Linked DNA regions of Homo sapiens: regions 2, 3, 4 and 5 are each linked to region 1. Evidence: promoter capture Hi-C in 16 types of primary human blood cells and fetal thymus (Javierre and others, 2016). All regions are on one chromosome and are shown on one strand. Each heading gives the region's core, a stretch centred on a gene start or on the middle of the fragment in contact. The rest is flanking DNA. Distances are from core to core; before and after follow the strand shown. Region 1 holds the start of ZNF878 (zinc finger protein 878). Region 2 overlaps ZNF564 (zinc finger protein 564). Region 3 has its middle 11 kb from the start of ZNF709. Region 4 holds the start of ZNF564 (zinc finger protein 564). Region 5 overlaps ZNF709 (zinc finger protein 709).

Region 1 (2,700 bases), core at 9-2,508:
TTCAAGACCAGCCTGGCCAATATGGTGAAACCCGTTTCTACTAAAAATACAAAAATTAGCCGGGCGTGGTGGCTGGCGCCTGTAGTCCCAGCTACTCGGGAGGCTGAGGCAAGAGAATCGCTTGAACCCGGGAGGCGGAGGTTGCAGTGAGCCGAGATGGCGCCACAGCACTTCAGCCTGGGGCGACGGAGCGAGACTCCGTCTCAAAAATATAAAAATCTGGTAAAATAAAAACAGGTCTTTTGGGGAAGGGGGCGGGGACTGGGATGGAATAACGTGGCAGATAACAGCCCTCCTTCCTACAGCCTCCAAATTTTAGACAAAGCTTTACACACTCTCAACCAACTGCCACCTACAGAATCCCTCCACCACCTGTGCCTTCTAACCCCGCTTCCATGTGTCCCGCCTTTCGGCCAAAGGAACTTACACCTTCCCGGCACTGATTCATCATTTTCCTGCAATTCCTGTCTCCCTGAAATGAATAAAACCAAACTGTCAGGAGCTGCCTCGGGATTGCTTACTCCAGACTTCGCGGGGTTGTGTTTCCCTCAGCCGAGGTCTCTCCTATTCGGCTCAGAATAAACTTATTCTACACGATTTGGGTTTTTCCGTTACCAAACCACAAGCCAGGACTGGGAGTTTCTCATTCATTAATCGCTGTTTGCTAAAATAAACTCTCATTTTTTAACAGTGCCTCAGTTTAATTTTTAACTGGAAAAAAAAAGGAACTGGGGACCCCACAGCCCACAGCTCCTCCCACACGAACCCCACACCCGAGGCAGGATCCCCCATGACCCTTCCATGGTCACCGCACAATCTGGGGAGACGCGGGGCTGCGGGCGCGGAGCTGCTCAGAGAGGGAGCCGGGGCCGGGGCCGCAGTCGCCGCGCAGGGACCGGACAGGACGCCCGGGGTCCCGGCTGCCGGCCCAGCTCCACCCAGCGGCCGAGGGGACCGAGGGCCGAGCTGCGCTAGGGGGACTGTGTCTGGAGCCCAGAGTCGCTGCAGGGGGGCCCGGGCCCCGCCACAGCGGGTTCCTCTCGGTTCCACCCAGTCCCTCCTTTCGCCTTGGGACTCCCCAGCACCGCATGCTCACCATTTCCTGGCTTCCAGGTATTCTGGCGTCCTCTCTAAAGGTCCCGTGAACAGTGCAGGTCACAGCGCAGTCGACAGAGCAACAGCAGCTACGGCGGAAGTAACTGGTCCCTCTCGGAGCAAGAAAGCCCCAGACCTTAACTAGCGCGAGCAGCCCTAGGAGTGAAGAGAGCGGGAATGCAACCTCCCCTTCCCTGGAGGACAGTGGCAGGGCCCCGCCCTAGCGCCCCTGATTGGATAGGGGTCTAGACTCCGCCCCCTTCCCTGAGTGACAGCAGAAGCCCCGGGTAACTGGGCGCTGCAGAGCCGAAGCGACTGGTTCTGGCCACACTTTCCAAGGTCAGCTCCCTCCCTCCCTCCCACCTTTACTTCGAATATTTGCCTTCGGCCAAACTTGCTCCGAACTGCTAGAAGGGACACTGTTGTCTTCCTCACTCCGTGGGCCGTCCCTGCCCCTTCATCCTACACGGGACACAAGTGTGCAGGGAATTCCAGATTCAGTGTCCACAAAATGTGAAAGACATTAAAATATTTTGCCCCAAGATATTGCCCTGCCAAAATATATTTCTTTGACAGTTTTGAAATGGCTGCTGCTTGGCCAGCAAACAAAAGGTGGCCTTGCAAAACTGTCTTTTGAGGGGGAAATTTACATTTGTAGAGAATCTCCGTTAATGAAGCACTGCCAGCTCCCCCGTTCTTTTCCTTTCCCTGATCTAAAAGCTATTGAGAGTTTGACACCTTTAAAATCTGAAGAGAGGTAGCACATGGTGACTCATGTCTATAATCCCACCACATTGGCAAACTGAGGCGGAAGGATCCCTTGAAGCAAGGAGTTTGAGGCCAACATCATCAACACAGCGAGATCCCTGTCTTTCTTTCTTTTTTTTTTTTTTTTTTAGACAGTCTCGATCTGTCGCCCAGGCTGGAGCACAGTGGCACGAGATCTTGGCTCACTGCAACCTCCGCCTCCCAGGTTCAAGCGATTCTCCTGCCCCAGCCTCCCAAATAGCTGGGATTACAGACATGCGCCACCACGCCCCGCTAATTTTGTATTTTTAGTAGAGACGGGGTTTCTCCATGTTGGTCAGGCTGGTCTCGAACTCACGACCTCAGGTGATCCGCCCGCCTCGGCCTCCTAAAGTGCTGGGATTACAGGCGTGAGCCACCTCGCCCGCCGATCCCTGTCTTTATTATTTAAAATTTTTTTAAATGGCCGGGCGCTGGCCGGGCGCAGTGGCTCACGCCTGTAATCCCAGCACTTTGGGAGACCGAGGTGGGCGGATCACGAGGTCAGGAGATCGAGACCATCCTGGCTAATACGGTGAAACCCCGTCTCTACTAAAAATACAAAAAAAAAATTAGCCGGGCGTGGTGGTGGGCGCCTGTAGTCCCAGCTACTCGGGAGGCTGAGGCAGGAGAATGGCGAGAACACGGGAGGTGGAGCTTGTAGTGAGCAGAGATCGCACCACTGTACTCCAGCCTGGGCCACAGAGCAAGACTGTGTCTCAAAAAAACAAAACAAAACAAAACAAAAAACCAGTGGCCGGGCGCAGTGAGACCAGGTCTCTACCAAAAAGATAAGTAAATAGATTAGGGCCAGGCATG
Region 2 (2,700 bases), core at 189-2,688, 470 kb after region 1:
GATACTACTAATCCTAATGAGATGCTATGTATGTCTTGAGTTTGATTTGTATTTCCCTAATGACTAAAGATGTCGAGCATTGTTACGTGCTTATTGGCCATCTGGGTATCTTCTTTGGAGAAATGTCTATTCAAGTCCTTTCCTCCATTTTAAAATTGGATTGTGTCTTAGCTTGGGTTGCTAAAACAAAATACCATAAATTGGAAAGCTTAATTAATCAACAAACATTTATTTCTCATGGTTTGGGAGGCTGGGAAGTCCAATATCAAGGCACTGGCATAGTCCATGTCTGGTAAGGGCCTGCTTCCCGGTTCAAAGATAGCTATCTTCTCACTGCACCCTCTCATGGTGAAGGGCAAAGCTAGCTCTCTAGGGATTCCTATCAGGAAACTAATCCCAATTACAAGGCCTCCATCTTCATGATGTCCTCCAATCCTAAAAACCACCAGAGACAGGGCCTCCAAATACCATCACATTGTGGGGGAGAGGGGGGGCACGGGGGTAAGGTTTCAACATATGAATCTGAGGTGGCATACACTCAGCCAAAACATTACACCTCTGGCCCCCAAAATCCATGTCATCACATGTAAAATATATTCATCTCATCCCAAAGGCCTCAAAAGTCTCAGTTAATTCCAGCATGAAGCCTAATGTTTAAACTCAAACTCCAAAGTGTCATCTCAATATCACATCACTCAGATATGGATGAGACTCAATTCATGCTGAGGCAAAATTCTTCTTCAGCTCCGAACCGGTGAAAACCAAACTAGTCATGTATTTCCAAAATATGAGACAGGCACAGGATAGAGATTCCTATTCCAAAAGTGAGAAACAGGAGAAAGGGGTGAGCTCCCAAACAAGTCTGAAACCCAGAAAGCAAACTGAAGACTTTCCATATTCTTTAGATATGTAGATACTTGTAGACCTGTCCTCCACTATTCATTTTCACAGGTATTCGAAGGTTGTGTGATAAATGAAAGCTTTCCCACATTCTTTACGTAAGGTTTATCTCCATTATGAGCTCTTTCATGTCTTTGAAAGGAACTGGAATAACTGAACGTTTTTCCACATTGCTTACATTCATAGGGTTTTTCTCCGGTATGAGTTCTTTCATGTATTCTAATGGAACTGGCATAATTGAATGCTTTCCCACATTCTTTACATTCATAGGGTTTTTCTCCAGTATGAGTTCTTTCATGTGTTCGGACAGAACTAGGACAGTCAAAGGCTTTACCACATACCTGACATTTATAAGGTCCATCTCCAGTGTGCAGTATCATATGTTTTCTAATCCTTTTAAGAGAAATGAAGGCTTTCCCACATACCTGACATTCATAGGGTTTCTCTCCAGTGTGAGTTCTTTCGTGTATTTGAAATGAACTGGGACAGTCAAAGGCTCTACCACATACCTGACATTTATAAGGTCCATCTCCAGTGTGCTTTATCATGTGTCTTCGGACACTTGGGAGAGAAATGAAGGCTTTCCCGCATTCCTTACATTCATAGGGCTTCTCTCCAGTGTGAGTCCTTTCATGTGTTCGAACATTACTGGAAGAACTGAAGGTTTTACCACATTTATTACATTCATAGGGTTTCTCCCCAGTATGAGTTCTTTCATGCTTTCGAACATAACTGGGAAAAATAAAGGCTCTCCCACATACTTTACATTTATAAGGTCCATCCCCAGTGTGCCTAATCATATGACTTTGAAAATTTGTGAAAGAAATGAAGGCCTTCCCACACTGTTTACATTCATGGGGTTTCTCTCCAGTATGAGTTCTTTCATGTATTCGAAATAAACTGGGGCGGTCAAAGGCTTTTCCACATTCCTGACATTTATAAGGTCCATCTCCAGTGTGCCTAATCATGTGTCTTTGAAAACTTGGAAGAGAAATGAAAGCTTTTGCACATTCCTGACATTCATAGGGTTTCTCTCCAGTGTGAGTTCTTTCATGTATCTGAAATAAACTTGGGCGATCAAAGGCTTTCCCACATTCCTGACATTTATATGGTCCATCTCCAGTGTGCTTAATCATGTGTCTTCGAACACTTGGGAGAGAAATGAAGGCTTTCCCACATTCCGGACATGCATAGGGTTTCTCACCAGTGTGAGTTCTTTCATGTCTTCGAAAGGATTGACAAGAACTGAAGGCTTTCCCACACTGCTTACATTTATATGGTTTCTCTCCATATTCCTGATAGTCATATGGTTTGTGTCCAAGGTGAGATCTGATGTGCCTACTAAGGGATGAATGATGCATGAAGACTTTCCCACACAAACTACATTCACATGGTCTTACTATAGTAGGAATTTTCTTGTTCAGATTAAGATTGAGAATCTGACTGAAGGCTTCTCCACATTGATCATATTCTTTACTTTCACTGAGTCCCTCTTCCATATGATTTCTGGAAAAAATAGAAAGCAAGATTTAGTGGTTTGTGACTTTATATTTATTAATAGGTATTCGACTTACATTTTTACCATAATCGCGGAAAGGGTAAGTTTTCAGGCCTGTATGAATTGTTTGAAAGTGAATGGATGGAATGCTCTGCAAGAGAGCTTGACAGTAGCTATCACCAAAAAAGTGATATCCATATATACAGTTTCTTAATACTATTTCCAAGTGAATGATTTTGCAACACTGAACATCTATGCCACTTTTTCTTTTTCTGGTGAAAAAGTTGTAGGAATAAATAAAT
Region 3 (2,879 bases), core at 1-2,500, 440 kb after region 1:
CAGATGAATGGATTAAAAAAAAAATGTTCCAAATACACAATGGAGTACTATTCAGCCATAAAAAAGAATGAGATCCTGTCATTTGCAACAATTTGGATGGAATTAGAGGTCATTATGTTAAGCGAAATAAGCCAGGCACAGAAAGACAAACTTCACATGTTCTCACTTATTTTTGGGAGCAAAAAATTAAAACAATTGACCTCATGGAGATAGAGAGTAGAAGGATGGTTACCAGAGGCTGGAAAGGGTAGTGCGGGGGTTGGGGGAAGGGGAAGTGAAGATGGTTAATGGCCACAAAAAATAGAATGAATGAGACCTAGTATTTGCTAGCATAACAGGGTGATTATAGTAAAAAATAATTTGGTTGCACATTTTTAAATAACTAAAAGAGTATAATCGGCTTGTTTGTAACACAAAGGATAAATGCTTGAGTTGATGGATTCCCCATTTACCATGATGTGATTATTAGGCATTGCATGCTTACATCAAAATATCTCATGTAACTCATAAATATATACACCTACTATGTACCCACAACAAAACTTAAAATTAAAAATGTAAACATTGCCTGGTCTCTGTGAACCTACGGGGTCACAGTTCTGAGTGTCCTGGCAGCATGATGCCAAGCCACTGTCCTCTGGAGAATATCTGACTCTCCTGATCCAGTATGGCCTTGCCTCCAGGGCCCTTTTGCTGTGGATTTACTCCTCAAAGAGTCAGTCATCAAGGGGTTCGCTTTATCTGGAAACTCTTGTCTGGCATTCCCTGCGCGCACACCTATGTCCCCGTTCAGAAGCTTCTTCGGTAAACGCCAGTGTCCGGTCTGAGGGCCTTTATATCTAGCATATAAAGTTCTGGTATAATGCAAATGTCTCTGGCAGGACAGTTTCAGGGACAAAAGTGGAAGCTGGATCGCTCAGCTACCTGACCTCCGTCTGAGATGTGACTCAGGCAACAGGGGGTGGAACCTCACAAACTGTCCAATTGGAGACGCCGCCGGAGCGGTGGGTGGGGCCGCCCTGTACAAAGGCGCGTGGATACGGTGGCGCGATTTCCAGTTTGTGTCTCTCCTGCCTCGAACGTCGCTAGGTGGCTCTGCCGCAGCCTCTGTCGCTCTGGGACCCGCACTGGCAGAGGGAGTCGTAGTTAGGGGGTGGGGACACCGCGGAAGCCCGGAAATGGTGACTGTGCGGGGCCTGGAATCCCGAGACCTGAAGAGCTGCTGGCCGGAACCGGCTGTCGCGGGAACCGGGCCTGCCCGCGGCCACTCCTGGGTCTGTGAACCCGAGTCCCCCTGGCGTAGCTCGGCCCTCGGCCTCCTCCCGCCGCAGAGTGAAGCTGGGCCGGCAGCCAGGATCCCGGGAGTCCTGTCCTGTCCCCGCGCGGCTACTGAGGCCCGGGTCCCGGAGCCCTGTGTGGGCAGCTCCATGCCCGTAGCCCCGCGTCTTCCAAGATTGTGTGGGGATCACGGGAGGGTCATAGGAGAGAAGGAATCCCGGCTCGAGTGTGGCGTTCGTGCGTGGGAGGAGCGGTGGTCCGTGGGGTCCCCAGTCTCTTCTTTTTCCCCAGGGGGACCGGTTTGCCCCTTAATTTTACAAACGTGTGAAAACAGGATCTCAAATCCACGACCCCGTTTTCCAGCCTAGCTCTTCCTAGGACTGACAGGAAATCCCTAAATTTGCCAATTCCTTCTTTCATTCCAAATGAAGCTTTCCCTCTCCAATTCATAATATTATTATTTGCCCTGTTAAATACAATTTGTAGGAAGCCATTGGTTTAGACTGAGCTCCTGCACTAGACCCAACAGACCAAACCAAAATGAGTTACCCACGGGGACGTTCCTCGCTACCAAGCTGAAACTAAGTTGTTTATCTGACCTTACAAATTATCAGGAGAGAAAGAGATGCTGGTCAAATCCCCAACAGGCCAGTTTTAGCCAACATGATAAAGAAAGTCCCCTCTGCTTTAACTTTTACCAGAAAAGCAACTTTGAAAGTTCCCGTCTTTCAACTGGGCGTGATGGCTCACGCCTGTAATCCCAGCACTTTGGGAGGCCGAGGTGGGTGGATCATTTGAGGTCAGGAGTTCGAGACCAGCCTGGCGAACATGGTGAAACCCTCGTCTCTACTAAAAATACAAAAATTAGCTGCATGATGGCCTGTGCTTGTAGTCCCAGCTACTCAGGGGGCTGAGGTGGGAGGCTCACTTAAGCCCAAGCCCTGGAGGTCGAGGCTGCGGTGAGCTATGATCTCGCCACTGCGCTACAGCCTGGGTGACAGAGGGAGACCCTGTCTCAAAAAAATAAACATCAATAGCGGTTGAAAGCCCCATGACTGGGGAGCAGCAGCCAGAGACTAGTGACTTCAAGCTAAGACCACTCTTGAGCCTGCAAAGGGAGGTCATTGAAAGCCCAGATGGGTCTTCCTGGGGAGCCTTCCCCAAAAGTGTCCTACTTGCTCTCACCCACCAAGGAAAGAGCTCTTTATACAGAGAGAAGCTACAGAGCACTGGAATGCTGGGAACCGCACGCGGTTTTAGGAGAACCGGGAGGGTTTTAATTGTCTAGGTTGTAATTGTAGTTTCCTTGGGTCTACTTTTAGACATTAGGTTTGAGTTTTGCTTTCACATTAGGGTACACTCGTGGTGTAATTTTTCCATATTGAAAAAGTCTGTGAAAGTTACAAGTTCTGTCTCCTGGACATGGTGTTAATGACTTTGGGAGTTCATTTGTGTCAGAACCTTCATCTGAATCCAGCTGACAGTTTCGTCACTTACGAGAACCAGTGGGAAGGGGCATTCTCTGCTCCCGGAGTTCATTCCTGTGGCTGCTCAGGTGTCCCTGCTGTCACCAGGGACTATTCCACTCTAGGGACTATACC
Region 4 (2,700 bases), core at 82-2,581, 500 kb after region 1:
GCATGGTGGCGCATGCCTGTAATCCCAGTTACACGGGAGGCTGAGGCAGGAGAATCGCTTGAACCCAGGAGGTGGAGGTTGCAGTGAGCTGAGATCGCGCCATTGCACTCCAGCCTGGGCAATAAGAGCGAAACTCTGTCTCAAAAAAAAAAAAAAATTTTACCGTAGAGTGTCAGGTTCTTATTCTCCGTTTCCCTCTCAGGTTACAAGTACACAAACAAGAGGCCGGGCGCGGTGGCTCACGTCTGTAATACCAGCATTTTGGGAGGCGGAGGTGAGCGGATCACCTGAGGTCTGGAGTTTGAGACCAACCTGGCCAACATGGAGAAACCCAGTTTCTACCAAAAATACAAAAAGTAGCCGGTCGTGGCGGCGCATGCCTGTAATCCCAGTTACTCAGGAGGCTGAGGCAGGAGAATTGCTTGAACCCGGAAGGCGAAGGTTGCAGTGAGCTGAGATCTTCCCACTGCACTCCAGCCTGGGCGACAGAGCGAAACTCTGTCTGAAAAGAAAAAAAAAACAACAAACAGAAAACAAATCCTTTCAAAAGAGTATGGTGAAAGAAACTATAAACAACTAAAATACTGTGTCTTAAATGTCAAACAAAAAACAGCTGATAATGTTGATTTGGCGAGGGGAGGTCACCTTTGGGAATGCGGGGAAGGAACCGGAAATTTAGGCATTTATTTCCAGCCCCAGAAAAAGCTAGGCTAAAAAAAACGGGAGTCGTAGGTTTGAGATTCTTTTTCCAGTACGTTTGGAAGACTCGGAGGAAGACCAGTCCCCCGGAAAAAAAGACGATGTACTGGGAAGGCCACAGCCCACAGCTCTTCCCATGCACGAACCGCACACCCGAGACGGGATTCCGCCTTATGACCCTCCCGTGTCCCAGTACAAACAATCTGGAGAGAGGCGGGGCTGCGGGCGCGGAGCTGCCCAGACAGGGCTCCGAGGCCGAGGCCGCAGTCGCCGCGCAGGGACGGGACAGGACGCCTGGGGTACTGGCTACGGCCCAACCCACCCTGCGGCCGAGGGGACAGAGGGCCGAGCTGCGCCAGGGAACTCGGGTCCCAGACCCTGGAGTCGCTGCAGGGAGGCCAGGGTGCTTCCACAGCCGGTTCCGGCCGGTTCCCACAAGCCCCTCCCCCAGTCTCCAGGCGCCCGGCCCCGCACACGCACCATTTCCTGGCTTCCAGGGTGTCCCGGGGTCCTGCCTACGGCTCTCTCCGGCCTGTGCAGGTCCCAGCGCGCCAGACGCTGCGGTGGAGCCACCGGGGCCACTGGAGAAGCGGAGACCGGAACCCAAACGCAGCGGACACGAAACAGGAAGACCCCGCGGAGTTGTTGAACATTGCCCCTGTCCCCCTTGCAGAGTTCCTGATTGGATGGTTTGCAGGTTCCCGCCCCAGTGCCCCTGATTGGGTGATGATTCAAGTCCTGCCCCCTTGGTACTGAGTGACAGGAGAAGCAATGCGGTATGTGGCTGAGTAAAGACAGATTGACAGGGTCTTGGCCACTGCCCTTCGCGGGCCGGGCTTCCTCCTTCTGTAACCTTCTGTGCCGGGGAGGATATTTGCATTTAAGCAGAAAGTGTTTCAGGCTCTGCAGAGGTGACACTGGCGTGTTTCTGCACTCAGGGTGCCCTTCCTGCCTTTTCCTCCCGGACACAGAGTCACAAGTGTGCACAGGGAATGACAGACTCGGCGTCCAGTGGAGCCATCCCCTGGCCTCGGAGTAGGAGGCGCGCCCAGGCCAGGCCAGACCACAGTGTAACAGGAGGGAGGAGGGCTTGCTTCTTTCAGGCAAGAAAATTAAAACGGACAAAGAAATAAAAGTATTAAATGTATAGGAAAAACTGGAGTTTTTATGACAGCGATCATCTATAAAGAAACCAAGAGAAGTAAGCAAACATTTGAACTAGCTCAGACAAGCAGCCTGCTTCACCCGCAGTTCACAAGGAAAACCCACAATCATAACGTTAAAAATATTCCCAAGCGCCGGGCGCGGTGGCTCACGCCTGTAATCCCAGAACTTTGGAAGGCCAAGGTGAGAAAATTGCTTAAGGTCAGGAGTTCAAGACCAGCCTAACCAACATGGTGAAACCCCATCTCTACTAAAAATACAAAAATTAGCCAGGCGTGGTGGCAGGTGCCTGTAATCCCAGCAACTCGGGAAGCTGAGGTACGAGAATCGCTTGAACCTGGGAGGGGGAAGTTGCAGTGAGCCGAGATAGCGCCATTGCACTCCAGCCTGGGCGACAGAGCGAGACTAAAAAATGAAATATGAAATGAAATGAAATAATGAAATGAAGAAATGAAATATAAAATAAAATAATCCCAAGCTTGGGACCCAGACTCTAACTGCTGAAATGGAACCCCAGTGTGGATCAGAACCTGGTGATGAGACAGGGACACTTAAGAATTCAACTTTGGGAGCTCAAGGTGCCCTCCAGTCCTCTCCTCACAGTGTGGAAACACTCTTTCCTTCAAAACCTTCATTTGTACCAGCAGGAAACTCTCACCCGGAGTCAATGTAAAGTCGTGACCTAAATAAATTGTCATGTTCCCAAACCTTTTCTCCAGGGGACAATGCAAACAAGTTTTTCACTGAGTCTGACCCTCACAGATTTTCTTCATGTATACAAATTACAGCCTGACTCAGCGACCCCATGAATGCTAAAACCAAAACACTGTCCAGGAA
Region 5 (2,700 bases), core at 80-2,579, 420 kb after region 1:
CTTTTCATTTTGTTCAGTACTAAGAAAAATTCTTCTGCCTTGGGATCCTGTTGATCTATGACCTTACCCCCAACCCTGTGCTCTCTGAAACATGTGCTGTGTCCACTCAGGGTTAAATGGATTAAGGGCGGTGCAAGATGTGCTTTGGTAAACAGATGCTTGAAGGCAGCATGCTCGTTAAGAGTCATCACCACTCCCTAATCTCAAGTACCCAGGGACACAAACACTGCGGAAGGCCGCAGGGTCCTCTGCCTAGGAAAACCAGAGACCTTTGTTCACTTGTTTATCTGCTGACCTTCCCTCCACTATTGTCCTATGACCCTGCCAAATCCCCCTCTGCGAGAAACACCCAAGAATGATCAATAAAAAAAAAAAAAAAAAGAAATGCTATACGATTGAAGCAAATATTTCCAGTTTAAGACCAACAATTCCTTGTAAGAAAAATACTTTTTATCTCCTGCTTTATCATGTACTATATCACTCAGCATCCCATGAAACACAGGGTCAAATCTGTACGAGATTTTTTTTTTTTGAGACAGAGTCTTGCTCTGACGCCCAGGCTAGAGTGCAGTGGCGCGATCTCAGCTCACTGCAAGCTCTGCCTCCCGGGTTCACGCCATTCTCCTGCCTCAGCCTCCTGAGTAGCTAGGACTACTGGCGCCCGCCACTATGCCCGGCTAATTTTTTGTATATTTAGTAGAGACGGGGTTTCACTATGTTAGCCAGGATGGTCTCGATCTCCTGACCTCGTGATCCGCCCACCTCGGCCTCCCAAAGTGCTTGGGATTACAGGTGTGAGCCACCGCACCCAGCCACGAGATTTTAATGAATAAGTATATACTGAAGAACTGTACATTTTTTCTTCTATTCCCATGATTACACTGAAAAGCCAGAGGGCCCGTGCAACTTGCAACAACATCCTGCTGGCCATGTTGTACCGAAGTACTGCAGACCATTAGAATTAGTCAGATCCAACTGGTGGAGTGAAAATATTCTTTTAGTGAAATATTAATTTTAACTTGTTTGTATAATATTTATCACAGACCCAGTGTTTCTTTTTTCTCCCTGTCCCATTTGATGGAGGCAGGAGGTTACTGGGATGTTAGAGCACAGGCAGGAGGAAAAAGGCATGGCAACTTAGATCATAAAAATTAAATCTTCACCAGGCGCGGTTGCTCACGCCTATAATCCCAGCACTTTGGGAGGCTGAGAAGGGTGGATCACGAGGTCAGGAGATAGAGACCATCCTGGCTAACATGGTGAAACCCTGTCTCTACTAAAAATACAAAAAAATTAGCTGGGTGTGGTGGTGGGCGCCTGTAGACCCAGCTACTCAGGAGGCTGAGGCAGGAGAATGGCGTGAACCTGGGAGGCAGAGCTTGCAGTGAGCCGAGATCGCACCACTGCACTCCAGCCTGGGTGACAGAGCAAGACTCTGTCTCAAAAAAATAAAATTAAGTCTTCAAAAAATCCCCACACTCATGAGCCTCAGGACTGCGACCACTGTTAGCACACATAGGATGGAGATGATAAGATGCCAGAACAGCTCTTTCCCTCAGAAACCTAACAGTGTACCCTGAGACTTAACGAATTTGAGTAACAGGTTAACAGTTTCAATTTGCAAGGGAGTTCACCCAAGTCCACAATGGTTTCATACTGAATTTGCCCATGATTACAAAATTCAAAGGGTTCAGCAGTGCTGTCCTCCAAAAGGATATGAAATTCCCTTTCTCCAATTTCAGAAAGAAGTGATCCGCAAACAGCTACTCTAGAGGCTGGCCATCCTCCCAACGTCTCTCATTTTAGGCTCCCGTGAGGTACGTGGTGGCATGAGATCCCGACACCAAAGCATAGGAATCCCTCAGTGGCATAATTCCCCTAAATCTTGGCCTTTGAAAAAGATCATTAACCTACTGATGTCCATATGCAAAGGACAGAAAAAATGCTCCCAAACAGCAATCCTGATACTAGAATTTACCTATTTGGTAAAGTAACAGAAATATCCACACCTTTCTTGTTGTTGGGTCAAAGGAGTAAAATGAGCTGATCACGTAAGTTCTAATTGTTCCTTGTACAGTGGTTCTATGGCACTTGTTCAAAGAAATTCCTACTACCTAGTGTGCAGAAGACTGTTAACATTAGTAAAATGTTAACCTAAGACTACTTATCTTTAAATGCCTGAGGGTATATATTCAATTCATAAAAAGTTCACATATGATTCTGTGGTCTCCAAACATTTGTTGTCCTTCACTGATATCTGGGAAGTGAGAATTTGGGAGGGACCCCGCCAACCTAAGTGATAAAGAGTGGCTTAGTGTGTGGCTGGGTGCAGTGGCTCACGCTGTAATCCCAGCACTTTGGGAGGCTGAGGTGGGCGGATCACAAGGTCAGGAGATCGAGACCATCCTGGCTAACACAGTGAAACCCCGTCTGTACTGAAGATACAAAAAATTAGCTGAGTGTGATGTCGGGAGCCTGTAGTCCCAGCTACTCGGGAGGCTGAGGCAGGAGAATGGCGTGAACCCGGGAGGCAGAGCTTGCAGTGAGCCAAGATCATGCCACTGCACTCCAGCCTGGGCAACAGAGCGAGACTCCACCTCAAAAAAAAAAAAAAAAGAGTGGCTTAGCGTGCCTAAATGGTTTATGGAATCAATAGAGTATATATTGAACTCCTTTTTTCCTTCTTAGAGTCTGGACTTT

Evidence for each region. Contacts are between HindIII fragments. The CHiCAGO score rates a contact against its expected background, and 5 or more counts as called.
Region 2: a contact is called between a fragment that was not itself captured here and the fragment with the promoter of ZNF878 in region 1, in 6 of 17 cell types (erythroblasts, fetal thymus, M1 macrophages and 3 more). The highest score is 7.7, in erythroblasts.
Region 3: a contact is called between a fragment that was not itself captured here and the fragment with the promoter of ZNF878 in region 1, in 14 of 17 cell types (megakaryocytes, M0 macrophages, activated CD4 T cells and 11 more). The highest score is 9.4, in megakaryocytes.
Region 4: the fragment with the promoter of ZNF564 here is called in contact with the fragment with the promoter of ZNF878 in region 1 in 1 of 17 cell types (endothelial precursors); the score reaches 5.8 in endothelial precursors.
Region 5: a fragment that was not itself captured here is called in contact with the fragment with the promoter of ZNF878 in region 1 in 1 of 17 cell types (erythroblasts); the score reaches 6.3 in erythroblasts.

The regions. Positions count from the first base shown.
Region 1 is chr19:12,051,703-12,054,402 of GRCh38, forward strand. ZNF878 (zinc finger protein 878) reads right to left here and starts at 1,259. Exons shown (of 4, transcript NM_001080404.3): 1 at 1,097-1,259. The coding sequence starts at 1,099. RefSeq lists a silencer at 855-904 and an enhancer at 1,093-1,598. The HindIII fragment of the contact is 8,690 bases long and covers 324-2,700 here.
Region 2 is chr19:12,525,511-12,528,210 of GRCh38, forward strand. It overlaps ZNF564 (zinc finger protein 564), which reads right to left. Exons shown (of 4, transcript NM_144976.4): 4 at 1-2,406. The coding sequence ends at 936. Among named protein-coding and RNA genes, the nearest start is that of ZNF564, 25 kb to the right of the region's middle. The HindIII fragment of the contact is 920 bases long and covers 979-1,898 here.
Region 3 is chr19:12,494,378-12,497,256 of GRCh38, forward strand. No RefSeq gene overlaps it. Among named protein-coding and RNA genes, the nearest start is that of ZNF709, 11 kb to the left of the region's middle. RefSeq lists enhancers at 145-1,025, 1,026-1,905, 1,167-1,246 and a silencer at 927-976. The HindIII fragment of the contact is 913 bases long and covers 795-1,707 here.
Region 4 is chr19:12,550,151-12,552,850 of GRCh38, forward strand. ZNF564 (zinc finger protein 564) reads right to left here and starts at 1,332. Exons shown (of 4, transcript NM_144976.4): 1 at 1,180-1,332. The coding sequence starts at 1,182. It overlaps LINC02926 (long intergenic non-protein coding RNA 2926), which reads left to right and starts at 1,576. Exons shown (of 2, transcript NR_187485.1): 1 at 1,576-2,700. RefSeq lists enhancers at 1-471, 1,130-1,239, 1,305-1,599, 2,383-2,700 and a silencer at 820-899. The HindIII fragment of the contact is 25,081 bases long and covers 1-2,339 here.
Region 5 is chr19:12,468,327-12,471,026 of GRCh38, forward strand. All of the region lies in intron 1 of ZNF709 (zinc finger protein 709), which reads right to left. Among named protein-coding and RNA genes, the nearest start is that of ZNF709, 15 kb to the right of the region's middle. The HindIII fragment of the contact is 9,028 bases long and covers 1-2,700 here.